5 separate regions of the Homo sapiens genome follow, and regions 1, 3, 4 and 5 are each linked to region 2. Evidence: promoter capture Hi-C in 16 types of primary human blood cells and fetal thymus (Javierre and others, 2016). All regions are on one chromosome and are shown on one strand. Each heading gives the region's core, a stretch centred on a gene start or on the middle of the fragment in contact. The rest is flanking DNA. Distances are from core to core; before and after follow the strand shown.

Evidence for each region. Contacts are between HindIII fragments. The CHiCAGO score rates a contact against its expected background, and 5 or more counts as called.
Region 1: a fragment that was not itself captured here is called in contact with the fragment with the promoter of BIRC2 in region 2 in 7 of 17 cell types (total CD4 T cells, total CD8 T cells, non-activated CD4 T cells and 4 more); the score reaches 8.8 in total CD4 T cells.
Region 3: a contact is called between a fragment that was not itself captured here and the fragment with the promoter of BIRC2 in region 2, in 3 of 17 cell types (M1 macrophages, M2 macrophages and M0 macrophages). The highest score is 9.3, in M1 macrophages.
Region 4: a fragment that was not itself captured here is called in contact with the fragment with the promoter of BIRC2 in region 2 in 1 of 17 cell types (fetal thymus); the score reaches 5.9 in fetal thymus.
Region 5: a fragment that was not itself captured here is called in contact with the fragment with the promoter of BIRC2 in region 2 in 2 of 17 cell types (naive CD8 T cells and non-activated CD4 T cells); the score reaches 9.5 in naive CD8 T cells.

Annotation. Positions count from the first base shown.
Region 1 is chr11:103,087,490-103,090,514 of GRCh38, forward strand. It overlaps DCUN1D5 (defective in cullin neddylation 1 domain containing 5), which reads right to left. Exons shown (of 8, transcript NM_032299.4): 2 at 1,738-1,829. Among named protein-coding and RNA genes, the nearest start is that of DCUN1D5, 3.2 kb to the right of the region's middle. The HindIII fragment of the contact is 1,427 bases long and covers 864-2,290 here.
Region 2 is chr11:102,345,604-102,348,602 of GRCh38, forward strand. BIRC2 (baculoviral IAP repeat containing 2) reads left to right here and starts at 1,611. Exons shown (of 9, transcript NM_001166.5): 1 at 1,611-1,773; 2 at 2,995-2,999. RefSeq lists an enhancer at 2,163-2,232. The HindIII fragment of the contact is 3,484 bases long and covers 104-2,999 here.
Region 3 is chr11:102,927,448-102,930,655 of GRCh38, forward strand. No RefSeq gene overlaps it. Among named protein-coding and RNA genes, the nearest start is that of MMP13, 27 kb to the right of the region's middle. The HindIII fragment of the contact is 557 bases long and covers 1,625-2,181 here.
Region 4 is chr11:103,043,447-103,046,227 of GRCh38, forward strand. It overlaps the pseudogene RPL21P96. Among named protein-coding and RNA genes, the nearest start is that of DCUN1D5, 47 kb to the right of the region's middle. The HindIII fragment of the contact is 8,262 bases long and covers 1-2,781 here.
Region 5 is chr11:103,110,076-103,113,149 of GRCh38, forward strand. The region is part of intron 1 of DYNC2H1 (dynein cytoplasmic 2 heavy chain 1); the gene reads left to right. Among named protein-coding and RNA genes, the nearest start is that of DYNC2H1, 2.2 kb to the left of the region's middle. The HindIII fragment of the contact is 2,788 bases long and covers 1-2,670 here.

The DNA.
Region 1 (3,025 bases), core at 327-2,826, 740 kb after region 2:
AATTTAAAAAATTAGCCAGGCGTGGTGGCACATGCCTATATTCCCACCTACTAGAAAGGCTGAGGTGGGAGGATGGCCTGAGCCCAGGAGCTCAAGGCTGCAGTGAGCCATGATCACAGCACTGCGCTCCAGCGTGGGCGACACAGTGAGACCCTGTCTCAAAAAATAAAGTCGTAGTGGGAGGTGGTGATAATACTACCTACTTAATAGAACAGTCACAAGAAAAAATAATATACCTGGGACAATTCCTGGAATAATGCAATTATTATGTTGGCTATTAAAAATGCTAATATAGTAAACAAATGTTTAATTAGAATCTTACACTACCTAGGAAAGTTCCTAGTTGAGGCAAATATTTTCTATTTCTATTGTATCTAGTAACCTTTATAAGTGAAATAAGATGGGTGACCTTTTGATTATATATCATTCATACCAGTAAAACTGGCATTTGGGATAATGGGTCAACATTTTAAATGGAGGTCAGTAAGAAATGAATTCCCTTCATTTAAATTGGGTTAGTGGTTGTCTTGGGATGCCAGTAATAGCATTTATTTCTGGTCTAGAAAGAATCTGTTCTGTTACTAAACAATTTTAAAATTGTACTTTGGGATCACTCAGCTGATTCCAACAGTAAAGTTACTGCCCCCCTTTCAAAATAGTCTCACATTCCATACAATTAGCCTAAACTTATACCTCAAGTTCAAAGTATACTACTTTAGACCTTAATGTGGATGAGCACTAAATATAAGGCAATAGCTACATATACACTTCCATTTTAAACAAACATTTTGAGAATGATAGTGATTAAAAGAAGGAGAAAAAAAAGTGAAGCAGGTTAAAAAAAAGGAAAAGGAAAAGAAAAAAGCTTTAAAATCAATAACTCCAAAAAAACAAAACTATTCTAAGGGGAAAAAAATTCCATATATATTTATGAGATAGTATAAGTGTTCTTTTGCATATATTTGCTTAACTCTTCAGCCCCATCTCTGGCTGGCTTTGACTTTCGCCTCTAAAACACAACCCCATCCTGGGCCTAGGGCTCTTCATCCACCAGTTACAAGATTTAGCTGAGGTTAAGTTAGCTCCTCTAGAAAACTCCCATGACACTTTAAAAGCTGGGTTATATATCCCTCCTATGAACTCTCACAGTGTATCTTCTGAATATAGTATTTATCACACTGTATTAATATCAGTCTATTTATTTTCTTACTATTGCATCTCTAGTAGAAGTGGATGGCTAAATGATAATTGTTAAAAAGTAAATGTGTTGTACAATTATAACTGAGGGGTTTAAATCTTTTACTATGTCTCCCCAAAAGTTTCAGAAAATGTTAGTTCAGAAAAATTTCAAAAAGAGAATATTGAATAGAAATGTTTTATTATGTACTTTGTGTTTTCCACAATATCAAATACAAAAATGTTTTATTGTGTACCTTTTATTTTCCAGAATACTACTTTAGCCAATAGATGTAAATAAATGAATCTTTGTTTACACGTTTTATTAATAGTAAATGAGTTCTTCCCTCCCAGTAAATATATACCGAATATATATTTAAAGAAATATCAGCCTAAATTGGCAACAAATTTTTAGTCTACCCACAATCTTCAGTCCTGACCCTCATCCCAGTACACAGCACTAACACATAGCAGGCCTGTAACAGATAATTTGTTAAATGAATAAGGCAAATAAACTTTTTAAAGCATATGACTAGTATCTTCTTATATTAATTTCATTACCTGCATATTCATAAAACCAAGCCAGGCACTTCTTGCTTGAAAAATGTTCCTCTCCACTTATTAGTCTAGCAGGGGGTTGGGATCTGCAATAGCTTAGAAAACACACAGACGCCTAAGATTTTTATCACATCTCAACTCTTAGAGAAAAACTAAGTTCAAAATTAACAACTTCCATTCACATTAAACAAAGGTTTTTTTTTTCTTCGGTTGGCATTGTTGGAAAAAAACTGAAGTTGTTAAGTAATTGCAACTTGAAACAGTAGTCTATACATAAGAATTATCGGCTAACAAAACCCAAATACCTTTTCACTCAGTATCAAAATCCAAAAATATCAGTAAGTTATTTCCGCACATTTTAAAAGACTACAAAGAAGTTCAACCTAGTAGGTGGGAAAGTATAAATATTTATTATGATTCTATTGATTTGCATAGAAATTCTATTTGTGTGTAATAGATAAATATTTGAAAACAAACTCTTACAAAGTATATTTTGATACTTAATGAATCAATATTTCAAAATAAAATGTTATATTAAGAGTTGTTTTATCACCTAAGCTTAAATAGATTTTTAAAGATAAATGATGACTTAGGACCTAAGGGTATATTAAATTACACAGATTTAAAAAAAACAACAAAAAAACACTAAAAGTTAATAATAGTCCAAATAATTGGGACAAGGCTATTTAATCCTAGGTTCTGTTCATTCTATTTCATTTTTTTCATAAAATCATTTTCATTGTTTTTCATAAAATAACTAAAATTTGGTAAGTTCAAAATGGCCTCTAGAATTTAATGGCCTTCAGAGAAACTTTTTTCAAGGAACTCAAATAATTACCCTACCACAATGATATAGAAATGATAGAACTTCTGTAACTGAGTAAAGTAAGAGTATCATATTTAAAAATTTAAATTGATAGAGCAAAGTATCACCTGAGTTCTAATAATACTGCCTGCTCAGCTATCTTAATGTACTTAACTTAAATAATTTTAATACATTATATACTTAAGATGGCCATGATATAGTACAAAAATGAATAATAATTTGCCTGTATCTTATAAAAATGTGAGCTACTAAAGTAACCATGTCAAATTCTAATGTTGACAAACAAGAGGTGTATGTATCATCGTTCACATTAATAGCCTAATACTCCATAGACTCCTTTACCAAAACACAGTAATGAGGGAAAAAAGTCGACCAATTACAAAAAAGAAGATGCAGACTATGTAAGTCATCTACCTCACAGTTTAAGCAGATCTCTCTTTAAGGAGAGCTCTATCATTATTTCCT
Region 2 (2,999 bases), core at 361-2,860:
AAGTTATACAAGATTAAAAGTTATGAGGTACTATTTATTATATGTAAATATTACAAATATTTTTTGTTAAAAATATCTAAGGCTTTTGAGTTTTTGAAATGCAAGCTTTCCCCTATACTTAAGTATATTCATTATCTTACTGCTTTGGTCAGGACAAGAACTGAAAAAGAGAAATAATCTTGAGTTCAGAATGAACAATTCTTGCTATATATATTTTCCCACATGTGTTAGGAATGTTCTGTAAACCTTCCGAGAAATAGTGACTTGAACTAAATACTAAACTACTACCAAGCCCCAGGTGCATTTTTGGAAGTTTTTAGTCATTGGGAGCCATGGCATTTCTTTTCTCTGTATTACAAACTGTTACACTCACTTTCTTTGACTATTAACATTGGAACAGTAGACCTCCTGTTCTGTGACTGACTGGCAGGCAGAAATGACACAGACAGGAAATGGGAAATGGTTCAGGGTCTTGGAATTCCCCCGGCTCCCTAATTAAGTGGCTTGCTATTTGGAAGTTTTTTAAATATTTGCCCCTTGGAGTTCCCCAGAGAGAAGCAAGCATCGGATTCAACGGGCAAAGAGCGTCAACTTCAAAAGTCGTTCGTTGGTTGTCATACCACAAACATTTACTGCACGACACTGTGTCTATGGCACTATTGGGGGAGTATGGCGGGGGGATACAAAAGGTCCATGACTAGCAAAAGCCAAGGGTTTTTATTTACAAATTTTCTATTACCTAAGCATTAAAAAAAATTGGGCTCCTCTCTGGTTTATGTACAATTATATGTGCATGTACACCAATACACAGGCAGACGTATATATTTCATTTTATTGAAACATTCAGAAAATACTGGGAGTGAAGCCTGACTTGCAATACAGTTCTCTTTGCTGGCAATGAGCATCTGAAATAATGACACTTTTTTCTTTAGTGCATATGAACTGTTTGTCTCCAGAACAGAAAACCAAAAGTTTAAAAACAAGATACTCCCGTTGACATCAAGTCTTCAGAATTATTCATCTGATGCTTCCTAGTTTCCAAAGTTTCGCTTTTTTCGATTTGCACAGGCAGCTGTTGAACGCTGATGCTACACAAACGGTTACAATTGTTTACTTAAGCAAAAAATGCCACCAGACTGACTCCATCCTCAAAATGCAGTCATCTGGACGGGGGGAGGCATCACACTTGGGGAGCCTTGCCAGGGGCCAGATCATAACCCTGAGGTGACACAGGGTAGGACGCGCAAAACCACCGGCGCCAGGGCGTTTCCGCAGGGTTTCCCAAAACTCAAACGCAGCGGCTCACGGTTTGCCACGTCCCCCAGGAGAATGGTAGACACAGAGAGGAAATGTGGAGAGGGCACAAACCGCAAGGTGAAGAAAACGAACAAACACCGAGTTGATACGGATAGTCCCCGTTCCCCTGAGGGCCGACCCCGTGACTCCCGATGAGCGTCCAGTTGCGCCGGGCATCCTGGCCTCCCAGCGTCTTTCCCGGAGGTTCATCGCCGCACGGCGGAAAGCGCTCTCGGTTCCGCTTTCCGGCCCCAGCCTCCCGGGCGCCCTCGCGCGGCGGCTAACGCTGGTCCTCGGCCGGGCGCGCTGACGTCATCGTGCGTCAGAGTGAGCCCGGATGGGGCGGCGGGCTTCGGGAGCGCCCGGGCTGATCCGAGCCGAGCGGGCCGTATCTCCTTGTCGGCGCCGCTGATTCCCGGCTCTGCGGAGGCCTCTAGGCAGCCGCGCAGCTTCCGTGTTTGCTGCGCCCGCACTGCGGTGAGTGCTGCTCCTTCCGGGCTCGGGCGGCGTGGGGCGGGTGGGGACGCGAGGGCCCGCGGGGGCCCACTTCCCTGATGTGGCGGCGAACGAGGAAGGACGGGGCCTGAGGCCCTTCGGCCAAGGGTCGAGGGTCGCCGGGGGCTCTCTGCTTTCTACTCTCGCCAAGGTTTTATTGGATTCGGAAGCCCCAACTTCGAGACTTGCAGTCAAAGCGATTTTTAAAATGACTTGTTTTCAAGCCTCTGGCCGCCGCCCACTCTTCTGGCCCTTGGACTTTGACCAAGATGTTTTCTCGCAGTTTTTGCAAGGTTTTAAACTTAGCCCTCGGCGTTCTTTTAATGTAATACATTGAAACGAAGATATTTCGGTGGCGGCGATATTTCATATTTCATAGTTGCCACTGCGCTCTGTCATTCCAGTAGTCGTCTGTTGTGTATTGTGAGAAGCAACTCTGGGAAATTATTGGGTAAATCCCATAGTTTCTATTCTTTTCCCTTCCATCCTATCCCCTGCCCAGCTGCAATTTGCGTAAAGAGAATGCAGCAGTGCGGTGCACGTAGATAAAAATCTTTCATTTAAAGATAGGATATAAGACCGGGTGTAATTAAAGCAATCATGCCAGTGGTCGTAGTGCCGGAGCCACTGTTTCACAGGCCACTGTGTTAGGTTTTGTTTTCGAGTTGCTTTCTGTGGTCGTTGCTTTGAAATTGTAAGGGAATGGCAGAGTTTAAGAGTTTATATTAATGAACTCGTGGTGCATTTTACTGCAGTTTTCCTAGTCGTGGAGAGACTTGATATTACAAACTAACGTTGCTGTCTTAATTCCTGCTGTACTGCTGCTGACAGGGTGTAGTGGAGTGTCTGTCTGTCTTTTTAACCAATGTGCCTTTGCCTCCAGCAGAGTGCCAGAGTTACCTTTAGGCCAGAAAAGGGGAGGAGAGCAAGGACAAAATGTTTCCTGTGTGAAAATTTCCATCTGTCTCTGAAGTTGTGCGTTTTAAAGACACGTATAGTTAGTGCTATGGGGAGTATGTTGCATTTACTTATTTTAATTAATAGCTTTTTCATTTAGAAAGTTGTGACAAATTGCTGGAATTAAGATGTATTATCTAAAGTGTGAATTATTCTTAGACTTTACTGAATAAATTGAAGAGTATGTAAGTTCTATTTGGCATGCACATACAGTTTTCTAAAATACTTTTTGTTTTTTCTTTTCAGATTTA
Region 3 (3,208 bases), core at 653-3,152, 580 kb after region 2:
TCCTGTGGGAGAGAACATGGTGGCCCCTGTGTATGGGACTGTGAGGAGAGGGCTGTGGATATGGTAGGCACAGACTGTGCTTTGTCTAGGACAGGATCCTGGATAAGTCATCTAGATTCACTGTATAGGCAATAAAAAGCCACTGAAGGTTTTAAACAAAAACTACTAGAATATTGTTTAGAAAGATGAATTAGTAACTGTGTGGGAAAGGATGACCAGCACAGGAGGCAGGGAGGACAGTATGCAGGCTATTGCAATGGTCTGGGTAAGAAGTTATCAGATCCTGACCCAGGGCTTAGGCAGTGGGAATAAAAATAAGAAACTGATGAGGAAGGCATTTAGGAGAATTGGGCAACCAGCTGGGTGGAGGAGGGGAGGAACAGGAATCTGTCAAAAACAACTGTGAAGTTTTGGATTTGTGTGACAAAACCAAAAATAGTACTAGGAAATTCAAATTGGCTTGTGGGAAGACAGGAAAAGTGCTTTGGATAGAGTCATAATTCAAGATGAAAAAGGCCTAATAATGATCAGAATCAGTGATTTTAAAATTTGTATGTTTAATTTTAATGTAGGCATCTTTCTGCACATGAAATTTTAAATGGGAGTCCAATACGTGTAGCAAAATAAAAGGAAAATGATTCTTGTTGGGGTAAGATTGGGTGGGAGGGTCCCACATACTTCCTACTCAGGCCTCCTCTCATTACTTCCCCAACCCCAACACACACCTAAGGGGGGCTCTTAGACGGTGCATGGAAAGTGGTTTAAAAATCAGAGCTCCATCTTTTTACAGAAGAGAAAACGGTTGTCTGAGGAGGCAAAGTGAATTGCCCAAGCATACACAGCTGGTCAGTAACAGATCTAGGACTAAAACCCAGGTTTTCTTAATGCAGAATTCAGTAATGGCATGTCTAATGGGTGCTAGGTGCTAAGGCTACAATGTGACCGAGACTCAGTCTCATAAAACTTGCATTTAAACAAACAGGTAACAGATCCACACTGAGAGAGTGATAAACCCTATGGAGGAAGTAGAACAGAGTTCCATGAAAGACAGCAGCTGCCCCCAGGCTGCCTAAGAGTAAGGAGCCAGCGGTGTGGAGAACCAGGGGAGGTGGGTCCCAAAGGGGAAGAGCAATTGCAAAGATCCTGGGGCAGGAATGAGCTTGATAGGTGGGAAGAACAGAAAGGCACCAACGTGGTCAAAGAACAGGGAAAAAATTAGGAGATAAGTGACAAGAGGTGAGTGACATCGGTGACGCAAATTGGGACCAATCAGGCACTGTCTTGCTTTGTGAAGTTCAGTGTCACCACCAAGAACTTCAAATGGAGAGTTGCAACCACCACTCAAAATTCAGATCAAGATTGGGCTAGAGATACAGCCTTAAGAGGCAGTGTCTTCTCAGGAAAGAGCCATTGGAAATGCCAGAAGTGCATTAAGCAGGAAAAGGCAGGATGACAAGGAGAAAGAAAAGGCCTGAAGAGAGAAACTTAGAGAACATTTATGGGAAAGCAGAAGAAAAAAATCTCAGAACTAAGAGAACTAAGCAAAACACCAATTAAGTGTGACCTTACAGAAGCCATGGATGCCAGGACCTTTGAAAAGTGGGCAGATGTCAGCAGCGTCAAAAGCTTCCACCCCTAACCATTCCCTGATGTCCAAAAATAGTCAAAGACATGAGGAATAAAGACTCTTATGCTTGACAATTAAAGAAACACAGCTATTCAGAAAACCTTGGAAAGCACAGTCTCAGTAGGATAGTAGGGCTTTGGGTTGAAGCCACGTAACAAGGATTGGATGAATTAATTACATGTCAGAAGTAGACTCAGTGCAGTTCATGAACTATGCCTCGAGCACTGACATGTGCTATAACAGCATTTGACATTGGGGTAGAGAGATAGGAAAAGAATCATCAACAATAGGAGACAACTAGTGCCTCCACCCTCAAGTAACATATTATCTAGAAGAGAGAGGGAGAGGAAAGCTGAGGACAGTGTGAGAGTCTGTCAGAATCAAATGCATTCACTACTCATGCCCCCAGAAGTTTACTGTTTAATGTGGCAATGATGAACCTGTTCAGGTTACCATTTCTGTGGCGGCTTTGAGTCCTTTAGAAACATTGGCACCATCATTGTGTTGTAAAATTTGTGTGTTATGTGGAGCCTCATAGTTCCATATCAGGGTCAAGCTTCAATCCAATTTGGTTCAGAACGTTCTATGTAAAAGGCAGAGCTGTAGGCACAAGATGTGATCCCACAATGCTTCTGCAAGCTAATGGGAGACACAAATGCTGGAAGAAAAGTAAAAGCAATGTGCTTTGTAGAAGAGGAAAAGAGAATTCTATCTGAACGTGTAAGGTCGGCTAGGCCTTTAGTAAGCACTCTTCTCCAGTCAGTAAAATTGATAGAGCGCAATTTTATCATTGGTAACAGAATAGAGGGGTCCCCGCCTATCTTGCTCATTCAACTAGGCTTAAGGACAACCTAGGGGATACTCAAATGTTTGCCCACTGAAATAGCAGTGTCTTAGAGTCACACTAGACTAGGGGTCTATACGCTTCATCACCCTCTCCTTCTCAATCCTCTGGATTGTATTACATTTACTGGAACTGGAGCTTCATGGCAAAACAGATTTTCCAAAATGGTTAATAAATTACATATATTACCACATGAAAGGCAAGGAAGGCTGTGAGTGAGTAATAATGTCTAGGTTACTAATTAAACATGTGCTTGCTTTAAAGCTTTTCTCTGTAATAAGGTTTATTACAGTATAATTGATTTTCCTTTCCCACAAGTTAATCATTTTAAAACCACAAATGAACTACAAGATTCAGCTTGTTCCAGGGCTGTATTTTCCCTGTCTAGTTTGTACTGGCTTAGACATCATGTAATGACAGAAGTCTTTTTCTAAATTTATTGGTACAACACCTTAAAGATCCTAATTCCAAAGTCAAAAGGTTTTGAAGAAACAGATTTTAAAGAACTACCAAAAACTGAAGAAAGGGACAAAATATTTATTAGTCTAGAAAATCTGAAAGATGCTTTTCTATATAATAAATGAGTTCTAAATATGCCATATGAACTTGCTGTGCCTCTATTCCTTCCTGTTAGTGTTTGTTACTTTATGATTCCTTCAGTTTAAATGTGAGGAGGTATAAGTGAATTCATTCAGAGATGATTTGAACAATAACTTCCAGTGATGCAAGCCAAACTC
Region 4 (2,781 bases), core at 164-2,663, 700 kb after region 2:
AGTTCAGAAAAATCAACAGATTTTTTTTTTCTTGCAACTAGATTTTTAGGGTAACTCTTTTGGATAATGTTTACAGTTTCAGACAACTCTGATTTTCTCCCAAATTTGCTGAGCAAAAACTAATGGCCTAAATGCAAATTCCACTCCTGTTTGGTAATTACAAGTTTCCCTCTAACATAAACAAGAATGCTTTTTGGAAAATTGATTTTCTCACATATACCAAGCAAGTAGTCTCTTCATTGAAAGAACAGGTATCAATCCACGGACTGGTTTTAAATGTTGGTTAAATGGTCAGTAGCTGTTAATCATAGTTGTAGAAATTTTTAAGGTAATATGTTCATTGGACTAGTTTCCAATCATATCTCACAATCAATACTTTTATAATTCTATAAATTCATAACTGATCACATGCATTTCACATATTCATCGCAGTATTGATGTTAACACTATTTGAAATTACTGAATAACGTCATAGATGCAATAAAGTGATTTGCCATGCCTATCTTATTAGAATGTTGTAACAACCCTGGAAATTATCCAGGCAAAACACCTGGTTTCTAATCCAGAGCTCTTTCCACTGCTAATAAACAAGGGTTATGAGAAGGCAAAGAGCACAGTGAACTCTCAGTTATTAACAGGAAAACTTTCTGGTTTTCTGGAAGCCAGTCTTATCCAGTTTGACTTTTGGAAGGCCAAGCAACCCCACAAAATGGATGTACAAATTCCCTTGTTATATTTATCTCATCCACTATAAAAACACGGGACAGACCATCCTCCTAGGAGTGTCTAGAATTTTATATTTAAAATAAGTAGTTACTGATTAAAATATTGATTCTGCTGAGCTCGCATTTACTTTAAGATATTATTGAGATTTTTTTGACCATTTCTATTTTTTAAGTGATTGAGTAATTTTCTAAATTTGCATATTAGGTAATTGAAGGTTGTGTCGTGGCTGGAATCTGGTTCATGACAAATTCCTCTTTCTAGTTGTCATTCTTTCCATTTAGTTACTCTCTGGGACTTCAGGAGAATGCACAATTTTCCAGTAAAGCCACGTGATAAGTATTTGTTTACACTTATGAAGTACTTCCTGTTTTGTTTTTTCCCACTCTTGTCTACATACAGATATAAGAAGTCTGAAAAACTTGCCTGCTTTTCCTTAGTCCCGCTGGCTTTTCTTCATTATTTTCACCAAATAAATGAGGTAGAAAACTCATCTTTTCTTTTCTTTTTTTTTTTTTTTTGAGACTGAGTCTTGCTCTGTTGCCCAGGCTGAGTGCAGTGGCGCGATCTCGGCCCACTGCAAGCTCCGCCTCCAGGGTTCATGCCATTCTCCTGCCTCAGCCTCCCGAGCAGCTGGGACTACAGACGCCTACCACCACGCCCGGCTAATTTTTTGTATTTTTAATAGAGACGGGGTTTCACCGTGTTAGCCAGGATGGTCTCGATTTCCTGACCTTGTGATCCACCCGCCTTGGTCTCCCAAAGTGCTGAGATTACAGGCGTGAGCCACCGCGTCCGGCCGAAAACTCATCTTTTCTTATAGCAACTACACTTAGTATCATTTCCCTTTGCTTTTCTCTATTACTCACACACACAAACCTATGCTCTATATTCCTTTTTCGCTTGTATCTTGTTTCATTCAGTGACCACCACCTGAATCAATAGGCACTGCTCAGGGAGATTAGAAGATTTGGAAGGTATAGAAGCCATGGGCATTTTAGTAATCAGAAGGAAATAACATTCTAGCCTGCTTGGCCGGAACTGCCATCTTCCAGTAATTCACCAAAATAACGAATGCAAAAGGAAAGAGCAGAGGCACCCTATATATGTTCTGTAGGCCTTTTAGAAAACATGGAGTTGTTCCTGTGGCCACAAACACATGAATCTATAAGAAAGGTGATATTGTAGACATCAAGGGAATAGGTTGAAAAAGGAGTGCCCACAAGTGTTACCATGGCAAAACCGGAAGAGTCCCAGTGTTCCTCCGCATGCCGTTGGCATTGTTGTAAACATACAAGTTAAGGGCAAGATTCCTGGCAAGAGAATTAATGTGTGTATTGAGCACATTAAGCATGCTAAGAGCCAGGATAGCTTCCTGAAACGTGTGAAGGAAAATGATGGGAAAAAGAAGGAAGCCAAAGAGAGAAGTACCTGGGTTCAGGTGAAGCGCCAGCCTGCTCCACCCAGAGAAGTGCATTTTGTGAGAACCAACTGGAAGGAGCTTGAGCTGCTGAGACCCCTTCCCTATGGATTCATGGCATAATAGGTGTAGAAAAGTAAAAGGCCTCTGAACTGTAAAAATGTTTCTCTTCTTTGAGTAGAAGTGGGTGTCCTCTCCCCTAAAGAAATATTTAAAGCAAATTTAAATTTTGCCCTTATTCATTGTGTAATGTCTTTACTATTAATATTAAATTTAATGTTTTTCTTGCTGAAAGATGTGGCTTATTGTGCAACAAATTACTCAATTGGTTAGAAAACGGCCAGATATTACTTATAAAATATTTTTACTGGTTTGAAAACTGTCCCTCTAAATCATCATGTAAGAAATAAAATAATTTTGAAAAAAAATTCTAAGTAATTCTGGGCAAAGTATATAATTTATGCAATTGCATATAAATCTATGCCAGCAACTGCATCAAACCACAACTTTTATTTTTAAAGTTTATATTACTCTAAAAAAATACAGAAGGTTTCCAAATGATCAGTTTTCTTCAAGTCTTACAGATAATTATTTTAAGAAAAGGCTTTTCATGAGTTTTAGCAGGATCTTTAAATAAA
Region 5 (3,074 bases), core at 27-2,526, 760 kb after region 2:
TGGAGTGTAGTGGCGCGATCTCTGCTCACTGCGTCCTCCACCTCCTGAGTTCAAGCGATTCTCGTGCCTCAGCCTCCCGAGTAGCAGGCGCGCGCCGCCACGCCTGGCTAATTTTTGTATTTTCAGTAGAGACGGGGGTTTCACCACGTTGGCCATGTGGGTCTCCATCTCCTGACCTCAAGTGATCCGGCCTCCCAAAGTGCTGGGATTGCAAGCATGAGCCACCGCGCCCGGCCTATATTCTACTTTTTAAGAAAGACTGCAGATACGTTATAACTAAAAAGAAAACATTTACTTAGTTATTTTTATTTTTTTCTCTCCCCTTTTTGAGTTTTTTTTTTGGGGGGAAGGCAAATTCTAGTCTATCTTTTTTGGATCAGGCTCTGATTTTAACATTGCCCAAGGGAAAGATTAGTTAGGAATTTAAATTTTTGTGAAATGATATATTTCAAAATAAAGTTTGAATTCTTTTTTGGTGTACATCATGTGATATACTGATTTATTAATTGCACTGCTCCCTCCACTGGCAGGATTGCTTAAAAAATGGGTTGCATTTGCAATCAGGGCTTATATATATAAGCCTAAAAGAAAAACACAGAAGAAAATTGCCTGACACATTAAAGGGGACTCAGTAAATAGATTTAAGTTAATAAAACAAAGACATATTTTAAACCTCTTCCTTTGGTGTTCACCCTTATCCCTAGGTCTAGCAGAGTTTTTGACACTCAGCAAAAACATTCAGTGCCTTTTTTTTTTTTTTTAGACGCAGTTCGCAGTTTCGCTCGTATTACCCAGGCTGGAGTGCAATGGCACAATCTTGGCTCACTGCAACCTCTGCCTCCCGGGTTCAAGCGATTCTCCTGCCACAGCCTCCCAAGTAGCTGGGATTACAGGGCATGTGCCACCACACCCAGCTAATTTTTTGCAATTAGTAGAAATGGGGTTTCACCATGTTGGTCAGGCTGGTCTCGAACTCCTGACCTCAGGTGATCCACCCGCCTTGGCCTCCCAAAGTGCTGGGATTACAGGTGTGTGCCACCGTGCCTGGCTTCAGTGCATTTTTATAGGATGATTGAATCATTCACCCTATTCACTATCTTTATTCTTAGGTTTAATTCGATTGTATTTAATAAACATTTACTTTGAACTCAGTACATGCAAGGCACTTTGCCAGGCATGATGGGTTTACAAAGATATAAAAAGGATGGATAATCATAGCTAACATTTATTTTCACTTTAGACTCTGTCAAGCACTGTTCTAAGTACTTTATATGTATTCGTTCATTTAATAGCCATAACGACATTGTAAGATAGGAACTATTCTTTTTCTTATTTTATGGCTGAGGAAAGTAAGGGACAAAATTTACAACCTAAATGTTAACTTTTCTTTTTCTCCAATAGGTAGCGTAGTTCAGGATAGAGCCCCCTGCTTTCTGCCTTTCCTAGACTCACTCCAGTGGCTTAGGATGACATATACTCAGCAAATGATAAAATCAGGACACACTGTTGTAAATGCCACTGAAAGTTCGGATAGAATGCAGTAGGAAAGATGGAAAGGGGTTTGGATTCGTGAAAGTGTATCTTGGCTTGGGTATTTGAAAGTTGAAGGTAGAACTTTTTTTTTTTAAGTTAAAGCTATTACTAGTAAAGCCCAACGATGTATCTGTTATTTTTAGTTGTACACTTCGCTACAGGTTTTTAGTCATATTTGAAAATATTTTGTTATGTCTTCAGTTGTACTTTAGTTGCCTGATAGTTAGCGTGATTCAATAAGTTAATAAGTCAGCAAATATTTATTGCCTACCTACTAGTACTGGGGACAAAGCCATGAACACAGAGTCCGTATCTTAAAGGAGTAACATTGGAATGGACAAAGGTAGGCTAAACGCATGCTACAGATATATGTAACATAATTTTGGGTATTGATAAGTGCCGTTAAGATAAAAATAATGTTATAGTAGTGATGGGGCAGCGTGGGGAACTAAAGATATATAGGGTGGGAGATAATCCCTCTCTGGATTAGTTATCTTTGAAGCGAGATTTGAATGATGAGTTGCAGGCAGGCATAACCTGGGGGAAGAGTGTTCTAAGCAAAAGAAACTGTAAGTACCAAGGCCCTGAGCTGGGTTTTAACTTAGTTTCCAGGGGCAAGAAAAAAAATCCAGAGTGATTGCTGGAGTTTATGGTATGAAGGAACATTGTGGTAGATGAGAAAGGAGAATAAGGCACAGGCTGATCATTTAGGACACTGTATACCATTTAAATTGAAATAGGAAGTTATTGGTAATCTTAAGCAAGAGAGAGCTGTGATCTGGTTTATGCTTTAGGACAGAGGTTGGCAAAAAGTTTTCTGTAACGGGTCAGATAATATTGCAGGCAACAAGGGCTCCATTAGCAGCTACAACTTGGCCTTTGTAGTGTGAAAGCAGACATGTAATACTTTGTAATAATACATGTAATTGAATGGGAATGGCTATGTTCTAATAAAACTTTATGGACACTGACATGTGGATTTCATATACTTTTCATGTGTCATGAAATGTTATAAGCATTTGAGCAGTAACAAAGTTTCAGCTCCTTTCCAGTGGCCAAAAATGTAATTATTTGGATAGAAATAAGTGGCATGAGACCCATAGCTGTTCTTCCTACACAGCAGTGACCTTGTCTGAAAGCTTTTTAATGTGTAGACTTCTTTTCCTGAAAAAAGAAATGAGAATAACTGAGAATGTGTGTATAATGCAAAAACTTCCTTTGACTAGTATAGTTCTCAGCTAATGAACTCATTACTATGAACTGACCTATTTTAAACAAGATTGCTGTAGTGAATTCCAATTGAGTTCATCTGGTTCCGATTTAAAATAATCTAGCTATATGACAATTTAACAAAGTTTTATGCTCTTAACTCTTTAAGGAAAAATTTTCAGTTAAGATAAAGTTAATTTCAGGAGATAGACAACTTAAGTTCATTTTGGTAGTTTTGAGTGCATGTATAATTTTAAAAGCACCTTTTAAAATGCTTTTTCTAAGTAAGAGGGTAATTAATTACATTTTGTTATAGACTTTCTGGGTTACTA